2 separate regions of the Homo sapiens genome follow, and region 2 is linked to region 1. Evidence: promoter capture Hi-C in human tissues and cell types (Jung and others, 2019). All regions are on one chromosome and are shown on one strand. The core of a region is centred on a gene start or on the middle of the fragment in contact, and the rest is flanking DNA. Distances in the headings are between cores, read along the strand shown.

Region 1 (6,162 bases), core at 1,299-3,798:
ATGAAGAAATTGTATTCTCGCACTGATTCGGTTCCTGTGTGTGTGTGGGTGTGTGTGTGTGTGTGTGTGTGTGTGTGTTGGGGCGGGGGCGGTCTTTAAACTGGTTGATGTCGGCTGTTCTGCTGGAACGTAGGATCTGCCTAAGCAATTCTTAAATAAAACCCTTATGATTCCAGAGCCAGAAATCCTACCTATTGAAACAACAGGGATGCAAATGGTCAGTACCTAGTGTTACCTGAAGTTATTAATACAAAGAAGCAGGCCGAACTGCAGCCTGATTAATGCTTAGTTATAACTCTATTTTTGTGCAGAATTCTTCTCAACCTTGTAAGGATGGCCTCAACTTGGACTCCCCAAATAGAATTGACCACACTTTCATTGTGCTCCTTTCTAATTTGTATAATTATAATGTTAAGAACTTGGGATTTCGAATGAGACAAACCCGGGTTGAAATCCCAGCTCTCTCAGTGACTAGTTGTGAGACCTGGGCAAATTACTTGCATCTCTGTTTTGTCACCTGGAAACTGGGATAAGGAAACTCAGAGGCGGCTGCAGCACAGCTATACCAAATATTGGCTTACAGGTGGCAATCTAGCTGGAAACGGAGCTGCAGGACTTGCGTTGAAACTATGTTTGCAAAAGCAAGCACATTTGTTTTCACTAAGATTTTATATTTACTTGGAGTGTATTTGGGAAGGGGGAGCACATGGAGATTAAGAGGGTAAAAATCAAGGTCACCAATGAGAGTACTTAGCACAGTGCCTGACGCCTAAAAAATTAACTGCAAATATTTATGTTTTTTTCCACTAGATTGAATTTCTTAAGAGCTGGATTCTATCTTATTTATCTGCAACTAACAACGCTTGGCACCAAATGTAGAACTGAAATGAATTTTCTTTGCAATCTTGACTAAAAAATGAGGGTTTTATCAATAACTTCGTAGAGTAAATAGAAGTCTCTTAAGGGCTCTTGATATTCTTCCTGTTGGAAACACAAAGAAGGGAAAGGTTTGGAAAAATGAAGTTGACAAAGTCTTTTATTATCAAACGCTCAAACTTATTCCTCACTGCCTTGTTAACACTTGATTTGACACTTTTTTTTTTCTGTTTGAGACACAGTCTTGCTCTGCCACCCAGGCTGGAGTGCAGTGGCGCGATCCTGGCTCACTGCAACCTTGGTTCAAGCGATTCTCGTGCCTCAGCCTCCCGAGTAGCTGGGATTACAGGCGCCCGCCACCACACCAGGCTAATTTTTGTATTTTTAGTAGAGATAGGGTTTCTCCATGTTGGCCAGGCTGGTCTCAAACTCCTGACTTCAGATGATCCACCCGCCTCGGCCTCCCAAAGTGCTGGGATTAGAGGCGTGAGTCATCGTTTGTCTCATTTTTGTTTACATTTAAAATAATAAACCTTGAGGTCGGGCGCGGTGGCTCACGCCTGTAATCCCAGCACTTCGGGAGGCCGAAGCGGGTGGATCATCTGAAGTCAGGAGTTTGAGACCAGCCTGGCCAACATGGTGAAACCCCCGTCTCCATTAAAAATACAAAAATTAGCGGCATGGCGCGGTGGCTCATGCCTCTAATCCCAACACTTTGGGAGGCTGAGGCGGGCGGATCACGAGGTTAGGGGTTTGAGACTAGCCTGGCCAACATGGTGAAACCCCGTCTCTACTAAAAATACAAAAATTAGCCGGGTGTGATGGCAGGCGCCTATAATCCCAGCTACTCGGGAGGCTGAGGCAGGAGAATCGCTTGAACCTGGGAGGCAGAGGTTGCAGTGAGCCTATACTACGCCATTGCACTCAAGCCTGGGCGACAGAACGACACACACACACACACACACACACACACACAAAATTAGCTGGATATAGTGGCGGGCGCCTGTAATCCCAGCTACTCAGGAGGCTGAGGCAAGAGAATCGCTTGAACCTGGGAGACGGAGGTTGCAATGAGCAGAGATCGCGCCATTGCACTCCAGCCTGGGCGACAAGAGCAAAACTCCGTCTCAAAAGTAAATAATAATAAAATAAAAAACCTTGAACGTCATCGCTGTAAGTTGGGAACTCCTATAGCAAGATTCCATACATCCCATTTTTGGACGTTTTATTCCAAAGACACAAGCAAACGGAAGAAAACGACTGCCGTGAACCCCTGCTAACGACAACTTGGTGACTGCAGGATCATTGGACGACGGTTTTATCCTCGCCATCCAATCGTTGGAAAGTCCGGAGAGAACGCTCTCTGGATTGGTTGGAGGAAACATCTCTCCAAGTGCACTCAAGAATGGGTTGGGAGCGGGGTTCGGCCGGCAGCGCCTCGGGCCAATCAGAGAAAGCATGAGGGCGGGCTCTGCCGCAGGAAGGTGGTGAATCTCGGCGGGTCAAACTCTCCTGACGTGATGGGGGGGCGTGGCCTCCAGTTGCGGTCTCCCGGCTCTCTGGGCCCGCGCACGGGATGGGCGGGGCCCACGGGCCTGGGCGGGGCGAGCGGTGTCAGCGGCGGAGCCGGATGCGGGCGGCATCGCGGCGGTCGCGGCCTTGGGGATGGGCGGAGCCCCAGCCGCTAGTGCTGGTGGCCGCCGCTGCTGCCCCAGCTGGAGCCCGAGCCGCCGCCTCTGCGTCCGCGCGTCGCTGCTTCCCAGGGCGGCGGTATGCTGGGGAAAGGAGTAGTCGGCGGTGGCGGCGGCACCAAGGCCCCCAAGCCCTCCTTCGTGTCGTACGTACGCCCTGAGGTGAGGGGGCGCCGCGCAGGCGGGGCGTCGGGCAGGGGCGGCCGGGGCGAGGGGCGCCGGGAGCCCCTTCCTTGCAGCGGGGAGCGCCGCGGAGCGCTTCCTGCCCTTGTGCCGGGCGACGGGGCAGCCAGGCGGGCTGAGGCCGCAGGAGCGCGCTGGGGCCTCCGCGCGGGCCGGAATGGGGACCCCGGCGCAGGCAGGCAGGTGCCTGAGCGCAGGGCCCGAGCGCTGGAGGCTGGTGGAGGGGCCCGAGCCGAGAAGGGATTGCGGCCCGGAACGCCCCTGGGGATTCTGGAGAGGACCTGGGGTTGTGGGCACTGCTGGGAGGGGTAGGGCCGTGGGTCGGAGCCCCCAACGGGGCCTGCTCGGAGCCCGCGTGGGTCCGTCCTGCCTCTGGACTTTCTCAGTGAGCCCAGAAGCCCGCCGGCCTCCGCTGCCTGCGTCTGAGTGCCTCGGGTGCGGCTGGCGGGATGCCCTGCACCTACGTCCGCCTCCCGTCAGCGCTGCGGGGAGAAAAGGGGGTCGGCCTGGCCTCAGCCAGTCTCTGCTTGTCTCTCCCTTGGGAATTCTCCGCTGTCGCTTCTTTCTCCTCATCCCCTCACCATCATCCTTTCCACCCACTTCTTACTCTTCTGAATCTTCAGGTCAAGAAATTTGTTCATTCATTCAGAAAATACTTCTCGAGCTCCTACTGTGTGTCAGGCACTAAGTGCTTGTGATAGACATCAGTGAACAGGACAGAGATCTCTGCATTCCTGGAGCTTATTTGAGGGGGAAAGGAGAAACGGGGTGAATTATAGATAATTAAGTAAATTATACGGTGTAGTAGGAGGTGATAAATATCATGGGAAAGAAAAGAAATCTTTTTCCTCCTCGCAAAGGTGGCATTTGAGCCGAGACTTGAAGATACGAGAGGTCTGAGAGAAGAGTCGTCCAGGTAGAGGGAACAGCCCCCGGGAAGGTCGTGAGGTGGGAGTGTGTCTGAAGGGTTGGCGGAGCGTCAAGGAAGCCAGCATGGCAGAGGCCCATGGACAAGGGGGACAGTCATAGGAGAGGAGGTTAGAGAGATCAGAACTTGTAGGCCTTGCTCAGGGCTTCTTGAGCAATAGTTCTTAATCCAAATGCCTAATGAGAAGCCTTCTTGTTTTGCATCTGTAAAGGTTTTTTTCTGCCCTTCTCTCCAGCAGAAGTGCAGAAGCACCGCCAAATTTGTTGCAGATGTCTTCCCACCTCTGTAATGCAGAAGCACGTGGGCTGTGGATGAGAGATCTGATCAGGGACTGCTTCCGTAAAGACCACCTGGGGCCTGAGGCATTTGCATATGTATCTTTAAATTCAAGATATGTGTGTTTTCTCCAGGGGAAAGTGCTCTTAAAATGGGTCTTATTTTTAGTCCTAGTTGTAAAATACAAACCATTTCCTCTGTTAGCACTTGATGTGGAGTCAGGGTCATCTTAAAGTTTCAGCGGGCTTCCCTTGTGGTATCACATTTAAGCAATGTGGTCAATTTCTCTTTGTGTCTTTTTAAAACATTTAAACATTTAAAAAATTTTTGTGGGTATAGTAGGTGTATATATTTAATGGGATACATGAAATATTTGGGCTGGGCATGGTGGCTGACACCTGTAATCCCAGCACTTTGGGCCGGCTGAGGTGGGTGGATCACCTGAGGTCAGAAGTTGGAGACCAGCCTGGCCAACATGGTGAAACCCTAAAATTAGCCAGGCATGGTGGTGCGCACCTGTAATCCCAGCTACTTGGGAGGCTGAGGCAGGAGAATCGCTTGAACCCAGGAGGCAGAGGTTGCAGTGAGCCGAGATCGCGCCACTGCACTACAGCTTGGGCGACAGAGCGAGACTCCATCTCAAAAAAAAAAAAAAGAAAGAAATCTTTGGATACAGGCATACAATGCATGAATGGGGTATCCATCACTGCAAGCATTTATCCTTCCTTTGTGTTACACACTATCCAATTATACTCTTTAAGTTATTATAAAATATACAATTATTGTTGACTGTAGTCACCCTGTTGTGCTATCACTTACTAGATCTTATTCTAACTGTGTTTTTGTACCCATTAAACATCCCCACTTCCCTTTCCCCTGCTACCCTTCCCAGCTTTTGGTAACCATCATTCTGTCTCCATGAGTTCAAATGTTTTAATTTTTAGCTCCCACAAATAAGTGAGGACGTGCAAAGTTTGTCTTTCTGCGCCTGGCGTAGTTCACTTAACATAATGACCTCCAGTTCTGTTCATTGTTACAAATGACAGGATCTTATTCTTTTTTATGGCTGAATAGTACTCGTGTGTATGTACCACATTTTCTTTATCTATTCATTTGTTGATGATGGACACTTTGGTTGCTTCCAAATCTTGGCTGTGGTGAATAGTGTTGTAATAAACATGGGAGTGCAGATTTCTCTTCCATGTACTGATTTCCTTTCTTCCTTTTTTAGAGACAGGATCTTGCTTTGTCGCTTAGGTTGAAGTACAGTGGCGTGATCACAGCTCACTGTAGCCTCCACCTCCTGTACTCAAGCCATTTTCCCAAGTAGCTGGGACTACAGGTGCATGCCAGAGCACCTGGCTAATTTTAAAATTTTTAGTAGAGGTGATGTCTTGCTGTCTTTGCCCAGGCTGCTCTCAAACTCCTGGGCTCAAGCAATCCTCCTGCCTCAGCCTCCCAAAGTGCTGGGATTGTAGGCGTAAGCCACCGTGCCTGGCCCTGATTTCCTTTCTTTTGGGTGTATACCTAGCAGTGGGCTTGCCGGATCATATGGTGGCTCTATTTTTAGTTTTTGAGGAACCTCCGTACTGTTCTCCACAGTGGTTGTATTGATTTACGTTCCCACCAACAGCGTATGAAGGTTCCCTTCTCTCCACATCCTTACTAGCATTTGTTATTGCTTATCTTTTTTGGATATAAGCCATTTTAACTGGGATGAGATGATATCTCATACTTTTTTTTTTTAACATTTAAGGGTTTGTTAAAAATATGAAACGCTTCACGAATTTGCATGTCATCCTTGCGCAGGGGCCATGCTAATCTTCTCTGTGTCCTTCCAATTTTAGTATATGTGATGCTGAAGCGAGCACTCATTGTAGTTTTGATTTGTATTTCTCTGGTGATCAATGATGTTAAGCACGTTTTCATGTACCTTTTTTTGCCATTTGTATATCTTCTTTTGAGAAATGTCTTTCAGATCTTGTCTCCATTTTTAGGTGGATTATTAGATTTTTTCCTATTGAGTTGTTTGAGCTTCTTACATATTCTTGTTATCCCCTGTCAGATAGATGGTTTGTAAATATTTTCTCTCATTCAGTGGGTTATCTCTTCATTTTGTTGATAGTTTCCTTTGCTGTGAGGAAGCTTTTTAACTTGATGTGATCCCATTTGTCCATTTTTGCTTTGGTTGCCTATGCTTGTCGGGTA
Region 2 (6,162 bases), core at 1,688-4,187, 1.0 Mb before region 1:
TGAATCTGGATTCAAACAAAGCCTACACATTTTATTTGGTTGCTATATCTCATAAATCTCTTTTAATTAATTACAGTTTCTCTTTCCTAACTTTTTAAAAGAGTTTTCTAAAAACTCAAAATTTAGACAGAAAAACAATTCAGACTGCATTTATCATAAAGAAGTCACTTTCTTATGTATTAAATGAGATGTCTATAACTCTTAATCATGAGATAACTAAAATTAACATGCTGATTTCTCATCAGTTCAGCATAAAGCAAAGAAATTTGACATTTTAGTTAACTTATGCATCTTTATTTCAAGGCTTATTTCCATTTGTCTTTTTAAAATAAAAATAGTTTGGGAAGTTTACTCCTAAAATGTAAAGTTGGGGCCAACTGACGTTTATTATAGCAAGACAGTTCTTACATTTAAATACCTAATATTAAGTATTTTTCTCAGCAGGAAGAGTCCTTTTATGTCTGCACTCCCTCTCTCCAACCCCACCAGTTATCACTGATGCTGTCTGGTGAGGCTTTCCTGTTCTCCAGGTCTCAGTCTTTGCCTTTGACCTATTCATTGGCTATTCTCAACCCCAATGACTTTGTCTTCCCCATGAGACTGGACAACAGAGGGGATGAGGAAAGCATTTTACCTCTCTTGCGGTTGGAAGGAGGGGAGAACATGAGATCAGTGGAGAGGGAATCATTGAAACAGTCAGAGACCAAAACCCTGAGAGAGACAGGATCCTATAGATCTAAGTTAAGAAGAAGGCTGATTTAGAGAGATATTTAGCTTTGGTGGCTGTGAAGATTATGTTTTATCCAGACTCAAAGTAGAAAGGGTGTTCAATCCTAGGTCTGAGATTTGTTATATTATTATTAAAAAAAATCTTTAATTTTGTAGATAGAGCCATCACCAGAGATTAAAAGGGCAGTTTTGGCTGGGCATGATGGCGCATTCCTGTAATCCTAGCACTATGGGAAGCTGAGGCAAGAGGATTGCCTGAGCTCAGGAGTTTGAGATCACCCTGGGCAACATAAGGAAACCCTGTCCCTACAAAAGTGTTTTCAAAAAATTAGGCCGGTGTGGTGGTGCACGCATGTGGTCCCAGTTACTCAGGAGGCTGAGGTGGGAGGATCACTTGAACCTGGGATGTCAAGGTTGTAGTGAGTCATGATTGTGCCACTGCACTCTGGCCTGGGGGTCAGGGTGAGATCCTTTCTTTTATTTTCATTTTTTAACTTTTTTGAGATGGAGTTTTGCTCTTGTTGCCCAGGCTGGAGTGCAATGGCGTGATCCCAGCTCACTGCAACCTCCACCTCCTGGGTTCAAGCAATTTTACTGCCTCAGCCTCCCAAGTAGCTGGAATTACAGGTGCCCGCCACCACACCCAGTTAATTTTTGTTATTTTTAGTAGAGATGGGGTTTCACCACGTTGACCAGACTGAGATCCTTTCTTTTAAAAAGAAATAAATAACAACAACAGCAACAATAATAATAATGATAATAATAATTGGTGTAAACTAGGAAAGAACACAGCCAGTTTGATTCCTAGATAGTGACTCCTCTGTTACTTTAGTAATTTGATTTTTAATATATCAAATTATTTAAAATTCTTTAGAGGGGCTCACCATGCAAAGAAATATTCCTTTTTTCCTCAAGTAAATTATAACCTTTTAATTACTTGTTTTATAAGTTTTGGCTTTTATATTTTGACATTTCTTGAAATGAGTTCTAGCTAGATATTTGAGAAAATGAAAATAGGAGCACTGATGTTACTTGGTCTACAAAGAGAAAATAACATCTCTGTTGTATTCATTCTACTATTATAGCTGTAAGAGATGCCACATACTATAATTCTGATGACATCAAAAGGTTCAGTGGATGTATTCTTGAATATTCTCTGGACATATGTAAACATTTTGAATATATCACAACTTTCATTTTTCCTAATAATGGAAAATTAACCATGCAATTAAATATATGACAGTCATGGATGACTTCATAAAGGGATTTTAAACTGAATTATAGCTAATAAAAAATACAAAGCAAGGGTATTTACAGCTACTATGAAAAAATTACAAAGAAAACAATAAAATCATCTTTAGGGCTTTCTTATTAAAATTAGTTTTTGCTGTCTAAATGTAAACTTTATCCTTAATTTAGGTTTTGTTATTAGCAAATTATGTTTTAAATTAATTGGTGGTGTCAAAAGTATCATTAAAATGTGTTAAGGCCGGGCGCGGTGGCTCACGCCTGTAATCCCAGCACTTTGGGAGGCCGAGGCGGGTGGATCATGAGGTCAGGAGATCGAGACCATCCTGGCTAACAAGGTGAAACCCCGTCTCTACTAAAAATACAAAAAATTAGCCGGGCGCGGTGGCGGGCGCCTGTAGTCCCAGCTACTCGGGAGGCTGAGGCAGGAGAATGGCGTGAACCCGGGAGGCGGAGCTTGCAGTGAGCCGAGATTGCGCCACTGCAGTCCGCAGTCCGGCCTGGGCGACAGAGCGAGACTCCGTCTCAAAAAAAAAAAAAAAAAAAAGAAAAAGAAAAAAAATGTGTTAAAAAGATATTATTGATTGAGCACTCTGTAGTCTCAGTGTTGCCAGGAGATGTATTTGGTTTAACTGAAATATAAGATATTTTTGCCTTTAGTTATTTATAGCCTTCTTAGGTAAACGAGAGAAAACACATGAAATTATGAAAAAAGAGTCAGTGGCGATTAAGTGACATACTGTGTCTTACAATCACTACTTGGATAAATAATTGATTGGTATGAGCTGAGGTAGTTTGTCTTGTGGTTCCTGATAGAGTTTCTAAAATTAAATTACTATTCCAGTATCTTCTTGGACCTAACCATTTGGTTAAAGGTCAAATTCCTTCTGCTACATATCAGAAATTCCGTCTGTAATTTTTATTTGAACATTTCCCTACCTTTTTCAATAATGTATTCCCACCCTAACCACCCACCAGAGAAAACAACACAGGATTCTTTTGTGTGGTGATGGCATTTTGTGAACAAAAGAACATGACACATGTGATTCAACTGAGTATCTGGATGTCTGCATGATGCTGTAATGTAGTCCTTTGGACAAGAATTACATGCATCTATCTTGGGAGTCACTGTACCAGGGCAGAAGTGAAGAAACCTTGGACTTTAAAACCAGCCCCTGGGCAGAATTCTGTTTTTGAAGGGAAAAAATAACCGAGAATGGTGTGTGTGTGTGTGTGTGTGTGTGTGTGTGTGTGTGTGTATGTATAGTGGCAATAATGGCAAATTTCACAGATAAGGAAATAGCAACAGTTCTGAATTATTTCCTAACAATATTGAGTGAGGGAGGAGCTCTGTCTTTCAGCTTTCAAATTATGTAAGAGGGATGAACTGCTGAAACTAGCATCTGGTACCAGGTGAGTCAGCTGCTATGTACAAACTTAAGTGCTTCTATTCACCATGCTAGGTCAGGCTGTAGTAACAAGCCATACCAAAATCTGAATGGCTTGAAACAACAAAGCCATGTTCCTTGATCCCACTCATGTCCACTGTGACCCAGCAGAGGATTTTGTTGCACTACACTATTGTCCCTACTCTGGGACCAAGGTTGACAAAGCAGCCACCATCTGGAACATTACCAGTCAAAGTGGCAGAAGGGAAAACAAAACAAAAAAACCTCTCTAGGGTCTTGTATCTGCATCAGTCTCTAACTTGAATATAACACAAATCATGGGGGAGGGTACAAAGACAGCCAAATAGGAAGAGCTCCAGTCTACAGATCCCAGCGTGAGCAATGCAGAAGACGGGTGATTTCTGCATTTCCAACTGAGGTACTGGGTTCATCTCACTGGGGCTTGTTGGACAGTGGGTGCAGCCCATGGAATGTGAGCCAAAGCAGGGCAGGGCATCACCTCACCTGGGAAGTGCAAGGGGTCAGCAAATTCCCTTTCCTAGCCAAGGGAAGCCGTGGCAGATGGTACCTGGAAAATCAGGGCACGCCCACCCTCATACTGCGATTTTCCAATGGTCTTAGCAAATGGCACACCAGGAGATTATATCCCGCACCTGGCTCAGAGGGTTCAATGCCCATGGAGCCTTGCTCACTGCTAGCATAGCAGTAAGAGGTCAAACTGCAAGGGGGCAGCAAGGCTAGGAGAGGGGCGTCTGCCATTGCTGAGGTTTGAGTGGGTAAACAAAGTGGCTGAGAAGCTCAAACTGGGTGTAGCCCACCACAGCTCAAGGAGGCCTGCCTGCCTCTGTAGACTCCACCTCTGGGGGCAGGGCATAGCTGAACAAAAGGCAGCAGAAACTTCTGCAGACTTAAACATCCCTGTCTGACAGCTTTGAAGAGAGTAGCGGTTCTCCCAGCATGGAGTTTGAGATAAGAGAATGGACAGACTGCCACCTCAAGTGTGTCCCTGACCCCCGAGTAGCCTAACTGGGAGACACCTCCCTGTAGGGGCCAACTGACACCTCATACAGCCAGGTGCCCCTCTGAGATGAAGCTTCCAGAGGATCAGGCGGCAACATTTGCTGTTCTGCAATATTTGCTGTTTTGCTGCGTCCACTGGTGATACCCAGGCAAACAGGGTCTGGAGTGCACCTCCAGCAAGCTCCAACAGACCTGCAGCTGAGGGTCCTGACTATTAGAAGGAAAATTAACAAACTTGAAGGACATCCACACCAAAACCCCATCTCTAGGTCACCATTATCAAAGACCAAAGGTAGATAAAACCACAAAGGTGGGGAGAAACCAGAGCAGAAAAGCTGAAAATTTCAAAAATCAGAGCCCCTCTTCTCCTCCAAAGGAATGCAGCTCCTTGATAGCAATGGAACAAAGCTGGACAGAGAGTGACTTTGACACGTTGACAGAAGTAGGCCTCAGAAGATCAGTAATAACAAAGTTCTCCGAGCTAAAGGAGGATGTTCGAACCCATCCCACAGAAGTTAAAACCTTGAAAAAAGATGAGACGAATGGCTAACTAGAATAAACAGCATAGAGAAGACCTTAAATGACCTGATGGAGCTGAAAACCATGGCACGAGAACTACGTGACGCCTGCACAAGCTTCAGTAGCTGATTTGATCAAGTGGAAGAAAGGGTATCAGTGATTGAAGATCAAATGAATGAAATGAAGCGAGAGGAGAAGTTTAGAGAAAAAGGAGTAGAAAGAAATGAACAAATCCTCCAAGAATTATGGGACTATGTGAAAAGACCAAATCTACATCTGACTGGTGTACCTGAAAGTGATGGGGAGAATGGAATCAAGTTGGAAACCACTCTTCAGGATATTATCCGGGAGAACTTCCCCAACCTCGCAAGGCAGGCCAACATTCAAATTCAGGAAATACAGAGAACACCACAAAGATACTCCTCAAGAAGAGCAGCCTCAAGACACGTAATTATCAGATTGACCAAGGTTGAAATGAAGGAAAAAGTGTTAAGGGCAGCCAGAGACAAAGGCCGAGTTACCCACAAAAGGAAGCCCATCAGACTAACAGCGAATCTCTCAGCAGAAACTCTACAAGCCAGAAGAGAGTGGGGGCCAATATTCGACATTCTTAAGGAAAAGAATTTTCAACCCAGGATCTCATATCTAGCCAAACTAAGCTTCATAAGTGAAGGAGAAATAAAATACTTTACAGACAAGCAAATGCAGAGAGATTTTGTCACCACCAGGCCTGCCTTACAAGAGCTCTGAAGGAAGCACTAAACATGGAAAGAAACAACTGGTACCAGCCATTGCAAAAACATGCCGAATTGTAAAGACCATTGATGCTAGGAAGAAACTGCACAAACTAACGAGCAAAATAACGTGCTAACATCTTAATGACAGGATCAAATTCACACATAACAATACTAACCTTCAATGTAAATGGGCTAAATGCTCCAATTAAAAGACACAGACTGGCAAATTGGCTAAAGAGTCAAGACTCATCAGTGTGCTGTATTCAGGAGACCCATCCCATGAGCAGGGACACACATAGGCTCAAAATAAAGGGATGGAGGAAGATCTACTAAGCGAATGGAAAAATAAAAAAAGCAAGGGTTGCAATCCTAGTCTCTGATAAAACAGACTTTAAACCAACAAAGATCAAAAGAGACAAAGAAGGCCATTACATAATGGTAAAGGGATCAATTCAACAAGAAGAGCTAACTATCCTAAATATATATGCACCCAATACAGG

What was found. The method cuts DNA at HindIII sites, captures the fragments that hold promoters and counts their contacts. A contact is called where the count stands out against the background at its distance.
Region 2: a contact is called between a fragment that was not itself captured here and the fragment with the promoter of MTMR12 in region 1, in 1 of the 25 tissues and cell types used here (aorta).

Annotation. Positions count from the first base shown.
Region 1 is chr5:32,309,325-32,315,486 of GRCh38, reverse strand. It overlaps MTMR12 (myotubularin related protein 12), which reads left to right and starts at 2,548. Exons shown (of 16, transcript NM_001040446.3): 1 at 2,548-2,729. The coding sequence starts at 2,649. It also overlaps the pseudogene RNU6-378P. RefSeq lists an enhancer at 2,080-2,129 and silencers at 2,220-3,009, 3,080-3,219, 5,345-5,505. The HindIII fragment of the contact is 13,800 bases long and covers 1-6,162 here.
Region 2 is chr5:33,351,843-33,358,004 of GRCh38, reverse strand. No RefSeq gene overlaps it. Among named protein-coding and RNA genes, the nearest start is that of TARS1-DT, 86 kb to the left of the region's middle. The HindIII fragment of the contact is 7,182 bases long and covers 1-6,162 here.